Linked DNA regions of Homo sapiens: regions 2, 3 and 4 are each linked to region 1. The links are contacts of gene promoters, found by promoter capture Hi-C in blood cells and fetal thymus (Javierre and others, 2016). All regions are on one chromosome and are shown on one strand. The core of a region is centred on a gene start or on the middle of the fragment in contact, and the rest is flanking DNA. Distances in the headings are between cores, read along the strand shown. Region 1 holds the start of STOML3 (stomatin like 3). Region 2 has its middle 2.6 kb from the start of CSNK1A1L. Region 3 holds the start of SUPT20H (SPT20 homolog, SAGA complex component). Region 4 has its middle 20 kb from the start of CSNK1A1L.

Region 1 (2,837 bases), core at 85-2,584:
TTTATTCCATTTTTTTTTCTTTGTTAGGCAGGGTCTCACTCTGTCACCCAGGCTGGAGTACAGTGGTGCAATCTCAGCTCACTGAAGCCTAAACCTCCTGGGCTCAAGCAATCCTCCCACCTCAACCTCCCACTTAGCCACAGGCATGTGCCACCACACCTGGCTAAATTTTGTATTTTTTGTAGAGATGAGTTTTTGCCATTTTGCCCAGGCTGGTCTCGAACTCCTGAGCTCAAGTGATCTGCCTGCCTTGGCCTTCCAAAGTGCTGCGATTACAGGGCATGCACCAGTGCATGCAGCCTAGTTTTTTCTTTTATGTATTAGTAATGCCAAACGTGTTCTCTATTTCTAACATGTACTATGGCTTTTTTGGCAACATAAGGTACAGAGCACAGGTTAGGTCATACACACACGCACACTCACACCATCATCACACACACACACACGCACACCATCATCATAATCACTTTCTGAACAACTTTTTAAACTTTCCAATGCTCAGTTTTCTCATTTGTAAAATGAGATTCTAAGAGGATCTACCTCAGAATTATTGTAAAATTGAAAGAGATAATGCAAGCAAAATGCTTTGTAACACATAATAGTCATTAGTATTAATGATAGTAGTTGGTACTTATAAGCTAAGTTTTTTTTCTCAACTTCTCTCCATTTATCAAACAGGATACAGCTCAAACCAACTTTTCTTTTTAATCTCAGCATCATCAGAAAATGTTTGAAGTTGGAGAAAAGTCAGCCTCTTCAACATATCTTTGTTATTTAATACAAAAAGAAGAAATACAAAGATAAACACCAATTCTATCTAAAATTGAATGAAAAATAAAGCAAGTTATAGACTGCTGTTCAAGAAGCAAATGAAATCAGCATAAGCAATGAATTCAAAATCCTGAGAAGGATTTCATACAGAAAGAAGAAATTCAAAGATAAACACCAACTTTATCTAAAATTGAAGGAAAAATAAAGCAAGTTATAGACTGCCGTTCAAGAAGCAAATGAAATCAGCATAAGCAATGAATTCAAAATCCTGGGCTATAAATGAAATTGAGGCCGATTTCTGCAAATATATCTCATACTTACTCTATACCTGTCTATAATGCTACAACTCCTGCTTTGCCATATATGTAAAAAACAAGCCTAAGACAGGAAAAAGGAACTTACCCACGAAATTCTCTTTATCTTGCTTCTCAGGTGAAGACACCCTAGAATCCATCTCATTCTTGAGAAGCTTTTATACTTGGCAATTTTTCATGGGTTTGGAGCTAAGTGTGAAGAACAGGCAGCAACTCAGATGTGCTTGGGAGAGGGGAGAGGAGAAAGTATGAGAGAGTGAAAGACATTCCTTCTCTTTAGTGAACTCCCTAAGGGGTAGTTACCCTGGTGAGGGAAGCCTGATAACATAAACAAAAAGATTTCTTTTATGAGTTCAGACTGCCTTTGTTCACAGAAAAAACTTGAAAGAATATGACCATCTGGTGGTATTGCTTCCTGTAAAATATTGCTGTGTAATTTTCTATAGCATTTATATTTCATAAAACACTTCTATGCACCTTGTATAAATCTTGTGTGATCACTGATTACACAATGACCTGTTCAATACACAGGGCAAGTGTATCCATCCTTATGTTTCAGATGAGAAAATTTAACCCAACTCATTCTAACACTGCAGTGAGTGAGCTTTTGAAACTCAAATCTGATCATGTCTTCATCCTGCTTAAAATAATCAAAAAATTGCCAACTGTCAATATTGTAAAGACCAAACTCCTAAGTGTCCTACAAGACCCTGCTGGCCTGCCCCTTCCTCCCTTTCCAGCCTCACTCATGTGTCTCTCCGTGAAGCAGCTCCATTGGTCTCCTATCAGTGCCTCCAAAGCTTGATATGTCTTCTCGCCACCGGATCTTTGCACGTGTTATCATATGCATAATTTTTTGGCTTGTGTCTGTTTCTTCTTCTAGACCAAGAATTGACAAACTTTAGCTTGCCAGCTAAATTTAATTTACCACTTGTTTTTAAAACATAAAGTGTTATTGGAACACAGTATGTCCTTTTGTTGCTTTCTTTTTTTTTTTTTTTTTTTTGAGATAGGATTTCACTCTGTTGCCCAGGCTGGAGTGCAGTGGCACAATCACAGCTCACTGCAATCTCGACCTGCCAGGCTCAAGCAATCTTCCTACCTCAGCCTCTTCAACAGCTGGGACTCCAGGTGCACACCACCATACCTGGCTAATTTTTAATTTTTTTTTTTTTTAGAGATGGGGCCTCACTATATTGCCCAGGCTGGTCTCAAACTCTGGGCTCAAATGATCCTTCAGCCTTGGTCTCCCAAACTGCTGGGATTGTAGATATGAGCCACCATGCCCAGCTCTTTCATTTTTGTATTGTCTGTGCTCACTTTTGCACTGCACCCGTGGATTTGAGTAGTTGTGACACAGACCATACAAGCTGTAAGGCCTAAAATATTTACTGTTTGTCCCTTCACAAAAAAAGTTTGCTGACCCCTGCCTTGCACTATACATTTCCATGAGGAGAGTGACTTGGTCTAACATTTCCATTGCATCTGCAACAATTAGAACAACGTGGGCACATGATTGATGTTCAACAATACTTGCTGAATGAATGAATATATAAATCACAAATGAAAACAGCTCTCAAATGGCAAAGCTCTTTCTCAAATCCAGATCCTTAGGATCCTGTACTAGGATTCCTTCTTTCATCAGACCACATAGAACCACAGACAATTTTGTGGTTATTCCAATACTAAGAACACCAATTTTCTAATTTTCTGATGTTCATTTCTCTCATATCAATATCCCAAATATATCTT
Region 2 (2,934 bases), core at 274-2,773, 1.9 Mb before region 1:
GTAGATCAGCTGCATCTCTGCTTCCTGTGTCCTCTTTGTTCTAGAATGCAGGCTGAAAGAGCAGCCTCCTTAGGAGCATGCTGTTCTCATAATAAAAGGAGTGGCAAATGTTACATTCCACTGGGCAAAACACATCACATGGCCAGGTCCAAAGACAGTGGGGTGAAAATACATACTCCTACCTCAGGTGGATAGTAATACAGTATACTGCTGGCATATTTTATTATTATGATTGTACTTCTCATTTTATACAAGTGGAAATCAAGGCATAGAGAGGTTAGATGAATTGCCCAAGACCACACTACAGACAAGTGTCAGAGGCCAATTTGAAACTGAATTCTGACCCAAGGTAGTTACTTTTTATACCGTACCAACTAGAATGGCATTTCTTTCATTTACTCATCCAACTTTGTTGAAATTTGCCTGGAGAACAATTTCCTTTCTAATAACCAAGAATAAAATTTATGTTGTTAACCCACTGCCCATTATGCTTCCTTCCCGTTCAGTCTTCCAGTCAATGGCTTCAACACGAACCTTGAAATTCAAATAATCTCTATGTGAGAGAAGTCACTATTCAAAAAAGTTACAGATAACCCATACATGGACAAAAGCTTGAATCAAAAAATCCCCTTTCAATTCTGGAACTAGAATAGTTTAATTATAGTTTATTTATTGTTTACTAAGTCCCATACTTTTTTGTACCAGTTAAATAAAGGCACTGTCTATAAAGAAGGTCAAGTGTAACTTATAATGGTGGTTGGGTGAACCTTCACTTACAGGGAAGTTGTGAGCATCTCCAGAATGGGGAGGATCAGTAACTGAAGTGATGATATGACCCTGAATAGCTTCCAATCCAGTCTCCCATGAATTCTCTTACCACAAGCCGGTGGGACTGCGGATTTTTCCCCGAACACATACTCCCTGCATTTTTTCATCTTTGGGTCTTGGCTTATGGTGTTGTTTCCTCAGCCTGAAATGCTTCCAGCCTGCTTTATCTTTCCCATCGCCCAGGTCTAATCCTAATAATCTCAGGGCTCTTCCTTAAATGCTGTTTGCTCCATGAAACCTTTTCCAATCTCCTCAACCAAATATAAATACTCTTTTTAAACCCAAACAACACTTTGCTTAAACTCTTGCATCCCCTCCTACCCTTTTGTCCAAAATTTTTCCATAAAAGATGTGCAACAAATAGTTTTTAAAATGGAAGTAAATTGAACTACTGTATTTCATAAAGTTTTGTGGACAGTGTGTGGGGTTGATGCATTCTTTATTTATTCATTCATTCAACAAATAGTTATTGAATGCCTCCTATTTGCAGGCATGAGTGACTCACCAAAGGTGGCATAGGTAGGTAATGATGGATTCAGAATGGAAATCCAGGATAGCCTGCCTCCAAAGCCAGTACTTTTAACCCCTACATAGACATCAACAGCCAGAGGCTCCTGAACGCTGGGTGGCTTCACTGTTGGGAATATATTAGTTCTGTTTCTTTTCTTTAATTGTATAAAGTATTTTACCAATGCATTTTAAAGCTATGATTTAGCCTTGATTTCAAAATTGCCTCTAAAATAATTTCTATTAATATAAGATGACCCCAGTAAAAGTAAAATAACGTATTCTGGGCAGGATTGTACTGGGTAGTATTGTACTGTTTAACAGCCAATTCGGGTTTTGTCAGTCCTGAACTTTATACAATTTTTTTTGTGGCCCTCTTTAAGAAAACAACAACAACAACAACAACAAGAACAACAACAAACAGGCATGAAATATTTAACTTAGGAAAAGAAATCATTGCAATTTACCTGAGTGTTAGAGGGTCAAGTCTTTTTTTTTATCCCCTAAGCTATCTTGATGCAATTGACCAGAAATTCTTACATAGAAATGCTTCCACATTGCAATCTGACTTCTCCTCCCCACCTGAAATACTTCACAACTCCTGTCCACTCCTAACACTTAGAAGGGACCTTGCAAAGGAGGCTTTATTCACTTCCCTGTAAGTCCGTGTCTGCTTTTGGCAATTAAGAAATGATACTCAAATGGCATTGGTTTTAGTCTCATATGAATTTTGGGGTTAATTTTCTGGGCTTCTTGGTATCTTTTCCCAGGAAATGGAGACACTTTAGTAGAATGGTCATTTGAGACACAAAAATTTCTTAGTTAAAAAAAAAAATTTTTGGCTATCAAATTGGGTCGGCAGTTGTCATTACAGAAACCATTTGGCATGAATATAATCTCCTTTTGGAACTATTTAAATAGAATACAAAATAAATCAAAATATGTTCTTAAATAAATAATGCTGTCACTAAGGGATTTACTGACATTTATGTGGCTCAAACACTATGTTCAGAATAACATTACCCAGAATCAATCACTTCAATTTTAAAAGATCCTGGAGATGACTAACTTTATAGAAGGATTTAAGTCATTTTTTCCTCAAAGCTTTTTGGAAGTATTGGCACTGCAAAGACAGTGAGACACTATTGGAAATGAGGTTATTTGGTGTAGTATCAAAAATCACAGCAGAGGGCGTCATTGTAATGTGCTGGATTTTTCTTTCTTCATGAAAGAATATTTTCTCCATGGCTCTGCATCTTTCTGTTCACTCATTTTGAAACTTGCAATATGTTTATCTGAAAAAAAGAAAACACTTAAATACCAATTTTACTATATTGAGAATGTAGGGTTCAATTTCAGCCTTAAAAATCATTACTTATTTTGTTTGGTTCCCATGAAGTTATTGCAATTCTGGCACCTTTCTGGACTTCCTTCCAGAGCAGTGAGGAGTTGTGTAACCTCTTTTACTTTTTCTTGCAGGTTGTCACCTTATTAAGACCATTCAAATTGTTGGCAGATCATTATGTGAACACATTCATTAATTATGTTACTTTATTCAAAGATCAGAAAAATTACATGAAAACAGTTCATGACATCACA
Region 3 (2,925 bases), core at 202-2,701, 1.9 Mb before region 1:
CCTGGACAACAAGAGTGAAACTCCGTCTGAAACTTTAAAAAATGGACTAACCTCCTAATACAACACAAACACAAGCACCATACAACTGTAAATGATTTACGATCATTTACAATGAGTAAGATATTACTCCTACCCTTGAAAAGCTCGTAGGAGGTTTAAGTTGAATTTAGGTGAACGTGAAAATTTTCTGACCACTGAATTTGAAGATGAAGATACACTATGTACTTTTCGGACAAAATGTGATGACTTTAAGATTTCTTGTCACTAAATTGGGGATGGGGGCTTACTAACTTTAAATTATTTAAGTACTTCAGACAAAAACTAATAACTTCATATCTCTCACAAAGCAAACATTCTGTCTATACACAGAATTTACTAGAACCTGTGAGGAAACTGTAATCATTATCATTTCCGTTTTACAGAATAAGGCAATCAGAACAACTGACTTTCCTAACATCACAGACCTAGATCAGAATTCAGAACTCTGTGTCCAATCTTAGGTCCCTTCCAATATTACAACCTGCAAACTAATCAAACCGGCATCTGTTTTTACATTTCTTTAAAAAAAGCAAAGCAATTAAAAAAAGGACCCAATTCTGCTCAGAGACGAATATGTATTTCTTAATTTGGATCTAACTTTATAACATGGTGATCAACCCAAGTACACTGTACTCGACTCCGAAAATCCTGCTCGTCACTTTATATTTTGAGTCCTACTAGAGACTTTGATGAATTGCACTCAAGAAGACGCGGCCCCCACTACGCAGTGGCTACGGGAGATGGCTTCCAGGGCAACTGTTCTCCAAGTTCATTTCTGAGCGCCGGGTAACCATGGCCAGTAATTAATCCAATTCTAAGCGTTGCTATCAATTCTACGCGTTGCTATCAATTCTACTGATTTCCCTGATCGACCAGAGTCTTCCCATTGCAGGAGCTTTTGTCACAACTTAGGCTTTACCTGTACAACCGTCATCTCCACAGAGGAGCGACAAGCCTTTATGCAATATGGACACCAAGAAAACCGCCTTCGAAGACACGCAAGGCAAAATTCTTGCCAGTGTCCGGAAATACCCGTCTCTGGAACCCAAAAGTCAAACTAAAATTAAAAGTTCGGCTTAGCAACACCGCGAAAGGCGATGTAGGCGTCCACCTGGAGTTTAGCTGCCTCAACCTCCGCCCCGGCCTGCCGGGTCTCTGGGGACCCCGTCTTCCTCCAGCGGGCTCTGGGATGCGGCCCGCTCACCTCTGACCCTGGCCGGATCTCGCGCGTCTAAGCCACCGCGTTGCCAGTCGCTGGCCACCCACCTACCGCCACCGCCCACCTGTGCGGGTCGCCTCGCCGCTAGGCCCCAAGACGGCGCCGCCTGCTCGGCAGCAAAGCCCACCCGCCCCGTCGGCGGCTCAGTGCTGCACCCCCACCAACAGCCAGTTCCGGCGGCCGCACTTCCGATTGGCAGGCTGGGCCGAGGGGCGGGGAAGGCGGGCGGAAGGGGAGGAGCCGGGAGGGCGGGGCCGCTGCCAGGAGCCTGGAGCGCTGCGTTCCGCGCAGGACGCCGGTGAGGCCCGCAGAGACTTGCGTCCGGGCGGGAGGCGGGGCCCAGGATCTCTGCTCAATCCTGGAGTCCGAGTCCGCAAAGTGGGAGGGAGGGTGTAGATGTGAATTTGGGGAAAAACGACCCTGTTGAATTTCTAGAGTGGAAGAAACATAGAACTAGCTTTTCTCTTTGCTTAGCACATACAAATGGAAAAACAGCGACACCGTTACCTACATTTACTAGTCCAATGCGTACAACCTTCTGTAGTATATCAACTGCCAATGAGTTTATGTTTTTAAAAAAACCACCCCAGAGAAGGGTTCTAAAAATTCAGAAACCGCATTACTAGCACACATTGTAAGGTCTGTTTTGTTTTGTTTGTTCGTTTGTTTTTCAGACAGAGTCTCGCTCTGTCGCCCAGGCTGGAGTGGAGTGGAGAAATCTCAGCTAACTGCAACCTTTGCCTCCTGGGTTCAAGCGATTCTCCCTGCCTCAGTCTCCGGAGTAGCTGGGATTATAGGCGTGCACCACCACACCCGGCTAATTTTTGTATTTTTAGTAGAGACTGTTTCACTATGTTGGGCAGGCTGCTCTTGAACTCCTCATCTCAAGTGATCCACCCGCCTTGGCCTCCCAAAGTGCTGGGATTACAGGCGTGAGCCATCATGCACGGCCTGGGGTGAATCTTTTTAATGAGCATTTATTATTTGCCGTTCACAATGCCAAGGGTCATAATGAATGAAAGTGTCTTGGAATTAGAGTTAGTGGTTGCACACATTATAAGTGTATTAAAGTACACTCCAAAATAAAATCCGAACACATTAAGTGGTTACTCCCATTCCTCCCTCTCTCAGCCCCTGGCAAATGCCAATCAGCTTTCAAACTGTGGTACCTATTACGGATATTTCATATAAATGGAATGTGTGACCTTTTGGTCTGTCTTCGTAGCATAATCTTTTGCAGGTTCACCTTGTACACCTTGTTGCATGTATCGGTACTTCATGTCTCTTTATGGCTACTATTCCACTGTACCTAGATGCCACAGTTTTACCTGTCCATCCACTGATGGACATTTGGGTTGTTTCCACTTTCGGGCTATTGTGAATAGCAATGATATGAACATTTGTATACAAGTATTTGTTCGAGTCCCTGTTTTCAATTCTTTTGGGTATAAACATAGTGGAACTTCTGGGTCTTATAGTAATTCTACGTGAAAATATTTGAGGAACCCATAAACAAATGTTTCTACAGCAGCTGAACCATTCATTTTACATACCAAGAGCATTGTCGGGGGATTCCAATTTCTCCACATCCTCACTAACACCATAATTTTCTATTCCTTTGATAGTAACCATCCCAAAGGGTATAAAGTGGTATTTTATTGTGGGTT
Region 4 (3,027 bases), core at 397-2,896, 1.9 Mb before region 1:
AATGTTAACTCAGATATGTAAAATCTGCACATGATGGAGAGACAGGATCAATATTTCTAATATTATAAAATAATGATATAATCCCCATCTCTTATCCAGAACTCTGGGAGCCAAATTGTTTTGGAATTCAGAATTTTTCCTATTCACTACAAGACCTGGGGTAGCACTTCCTGTTAATATTTCACAGTAAGTGGATAAATAAAGACTGTAAATACCCTAATGTCAGTTCAAATCAGGCTTTAATTGATAGTGAATTTTGATAGTTTGACTTTCATAGAGTATGAAATAAAATTATTTGCCTGATGATCAATCTACATGTCATATTGTTGGCCTTGTAAATTGGCCATAGTATGAGATTTAGCCTTTGCCGTTCAATTAGTTTCTATGGAGAGATGCTGTATTAATACAAATGTCGCAAGAAGACTGTAAATCATAATTTCAGTATTCTGCTAAAAATCATAGTTTTTAGGCCAGGCATGGTGGCTCAGGCCTCTAATCCCAGCGCTTTGGGAGGCCGAGGTGAGTGGATCACGAGGTCAGGAGCTCGAGACAAGCCTGGCCAACATAGTCAAACCCTGTCTCTACTAAAAATACAAAAATTAGCCGGGCGTAGCGGCGTGTGCCTGTAGTCCCAGCTACTCGGGAGGCTGAGGCAGGAGAATTGCTTGAACTCCGTAGGCGGAGGTTGCAGTGAGCTGAGATGGCGCCGCTGCACTCCAGCCTGGGCGACAGAGGGAGACTCCATCTCAAAAAAAAAAAATCATAATTTTTAGAGTTTGTCTGACTAACGCACATTGGGTAGTTTGTATTAATATATCTTAGATATTTTTGGTGAGAATTTTGGCAACAGTTTTTTTTTTTTTTTTTTGAGACAGAGTCTTGCCCTGTCAGCCAGGCTGGAGTGGCACGATCTCCGCTCACTGCAACCTCCGTCTCCCAGGCTCAAGCAATTCTCCTGCCTCAGCCTCCTGAGTAGCTGGCATTGCAGGCGTGTGCCACCATGCCTGGCTAATTTTTGTATTTTTAGTTGAGATTGGGTTTCACCACGTTGGCCAGGCTGGTCTGGAACTCCTGACCTCAGGTAATCTGCCCGCCTCGGCCTCCCACAGTCCTGCGATTACAGGCATGAGCCACCTCGCCCGGCCAAGAGTTTTTAAGACTTCCTGTTCAATACGAACCACCTCTTCAGACAGAGTAGGCTTAAATGACAATAAGCTTCTAAATGTAGAAAAACCTTTTTAGTCGATTGACTCTCTTAGAAGCACACTGTTGCTGTTCTTTTTAAAAAGTGTTTAAAGAGGATTTAGAAATTGACTGTGTTTCTATGTGACCAGAACTGTATGCAGTATTTTTTTTTTTATTATAACCCTTTACTCTTCTTGGCTAGAGTTTAATTATATTTTTTCATCCAACAATCACAGATTTCGTTGAGTAATCTCTTTTGGCTTGTATTTAGGTCAGTTTATTTGTTCATAATAATGAAGTCACTGACATATGGAAACATTTAGTGTGTTACTTAACTAATCAATTGGAACAATAAAACCTAGAAAGCATTTTTATCAAGTTAAAATTTCAAATCACACAGTTTTCTCCTTTTCACTTTTATCATAAAATTGCTCCCAGGAATTGTGCTGTGAAAATCAGTTTTTTTTTAATATGATTTTTCTTTTTAACTTAAAAAAATAAACTTTGATGGAGTGAACCCCAAAAAGGATAGTGACCTAGCTGGACTTTTAAAAAACAGCTTAAAAGAAGATCAACTGAGAGAATTGAGAAGAGAAATTGGAGGTGGTAGGTGAGAAGGAGAAAGAGGAGGGAGTACTGAGTGGTAAGGTGGCTTAGTCTGTTCTTGCTGTTATAACGAAATAGCTTAGACTGGGTACTTTTAAACAACAGGAATTTGTTGCCTATAGTTCTGGAGGCTGGGTAGTCCAAGATCAAGGTGGTAGCAGATTCAGTGTCTGATGAGGGCTCATTCTTTGTAGATGGCAACTTCTATGTGTCCTCACAGGGAAAAAGGGGCAAATGGGCTCTCCTAGCCCTCTTCTATAAGGGCAATAATCTCATTCATGAGTATGAAGCTTCATGACTTAATTACCTCCTAAAGGTCTCACTTCTTAATACTCTCACATTGGGTATCAGGTTCCAACATATGAACTTTGGAAAGACACTGATATTAAGACCATAGCATAAAGTGAGAAGGTGGAGGAGCCTGGATTGAATACAGTAGACAGTGGATTTGTGAGCATATTTTAACACATTATCACGAGCCACACAACGAAGAGCAGCTGAGAGCTGTCTTAAATCAGATCTGAAAAAGGCCATGACTGTGTGTATTAGGGTTCTCTACAGGGACAGAACTAATGGAATACATATATGTAAAGGGGAGTTTATTAAGTATTAACTCGTAGGATCCCAAGGTCCCACAATAGGCCGTCTGCAGGCTGAGGAGCAAGGAGAGCCAGTCCGAGTTCCAAAACTGAAGAACTTGGAGTCCGATATTCGAGGTCAGGAAGCATCCATCATGGGAGAAAGATGTAGGCTGGGAGGCTAGGTCAGTCTCTCTTTTCATGTTTTTCTGCTTGCTTATTTTCTAGCTATGCTGGCAGCTGATTAGACTGTGCCCACCCAGGTTAAGGGTGGGTCTGCCTTTCCTCGTCCACTGACTCAAATGTTAATCTCTTTTGGCAACACCCTCACAGACACACCCAGGATCAATACTTTGCATCCTTCAATCCAATCAAGTTGACACTCAGTATTAACCATCACACTGTGAAAACAGAAAGACAGCATCAGATCCAAAAGGGCCAGTAAAAAAGAAGCAAGAGGTCATGAAAATGGATCAAAAGTAGCTGGCAAAAGAGAAAAAGAAACTTTTTTTGATAGAAAAGGAGAATTTGCAAATAATAATTATTGGTTGAGATAGAGGATATGTTGTCTTCTTATAATTTTCAGGCTGCTGACAATAATGCAATGATTTTGGGGCAGCATAGCCATGAAAGAGCAAGATGAGTGATGTTGACAAAC

What was found. The method cuts DNA at HindIII sites, captures the fragments that hold promoters and counts their contacts. A CHiCAGO score of 5 or more calls a contact.
Region 2: a fragment that was not itself captured here is called in contact with the fragment with the promoter of STOML3 in region 1 in 1 of 17 cell types (non-activated CD4 T cells); the score reaches 5.8 in non-activated CD4 T cells.
Region 3: the fragment with the promoter of SUPT20H here is called in contact with the fragment with the promoter of STOML3 in region 1 in 5 of 17 cell types (total CD4 T cells, M2 macrophages, total CD8 T cells and 2 more); the score reaches 11.9 in total CD4 T cells.
Region 4: a fragment that was not itself captured here is called in contact with the fragment with the promoter of STOML3 in region 1 in 4 of 17 cell types (naive CD8 T cells, total CD4 T cells, M2 macrophages and 1 more); the score reaches 8.1 in naive CD8 T cells.

The regions. Positions count from the first base shown.
Region 1 is chr13:38,989,497-38,992,333 of GRCh38, forward strand. It overlaps STOML3 (stomatin like 3), which reads right to left and starts at 1,335. Exons shown (of 7, transcript NM_145286.3): 1 at 1,174-1,335. The coding sequence starts at 1,225. The HindIII fragment of the contact is 645 bases long and covers 1,239-1,883 here.
Region 2 is chr13:37,106,752-37,109,685 of GRCh38, forward strand. No RefSeq gene overlaps it. Among named protein-coding and RNA genes, the nearest start is that of CSNK1A1L, 2.6 kb to the left of the region's middle. The HindIII fragment of the contact is 1,828 bases long and covers 610-2,437 here.
Region 3 is chr13:37,058,237-37,061,161 of GRCh38, forward strand. It overlaps SUPT20H (SPT20 homolog, SAGA complex component), which reads right to left and starts at 1,452. Exons shown (of 26, transcript NM_001014286.3): 1 at 1,323-1,452. RefSeq lists a silencer at 1,364-1,623. The HindIII fragment of the contact is 8,647 bases long and covers 1-2,925 here.
Region 4 is chr13:37,084,406-37,087,432 of GRCh38, forward strand. No RefSeq gene overlaps it. Among named protein-coding and RNA genes, the nearest start is that of CSNK1A1L, 20 kb to the right of the region's middle. The HindIII fragment of the contact is 866 bases long and covers 1,214-2,079 here.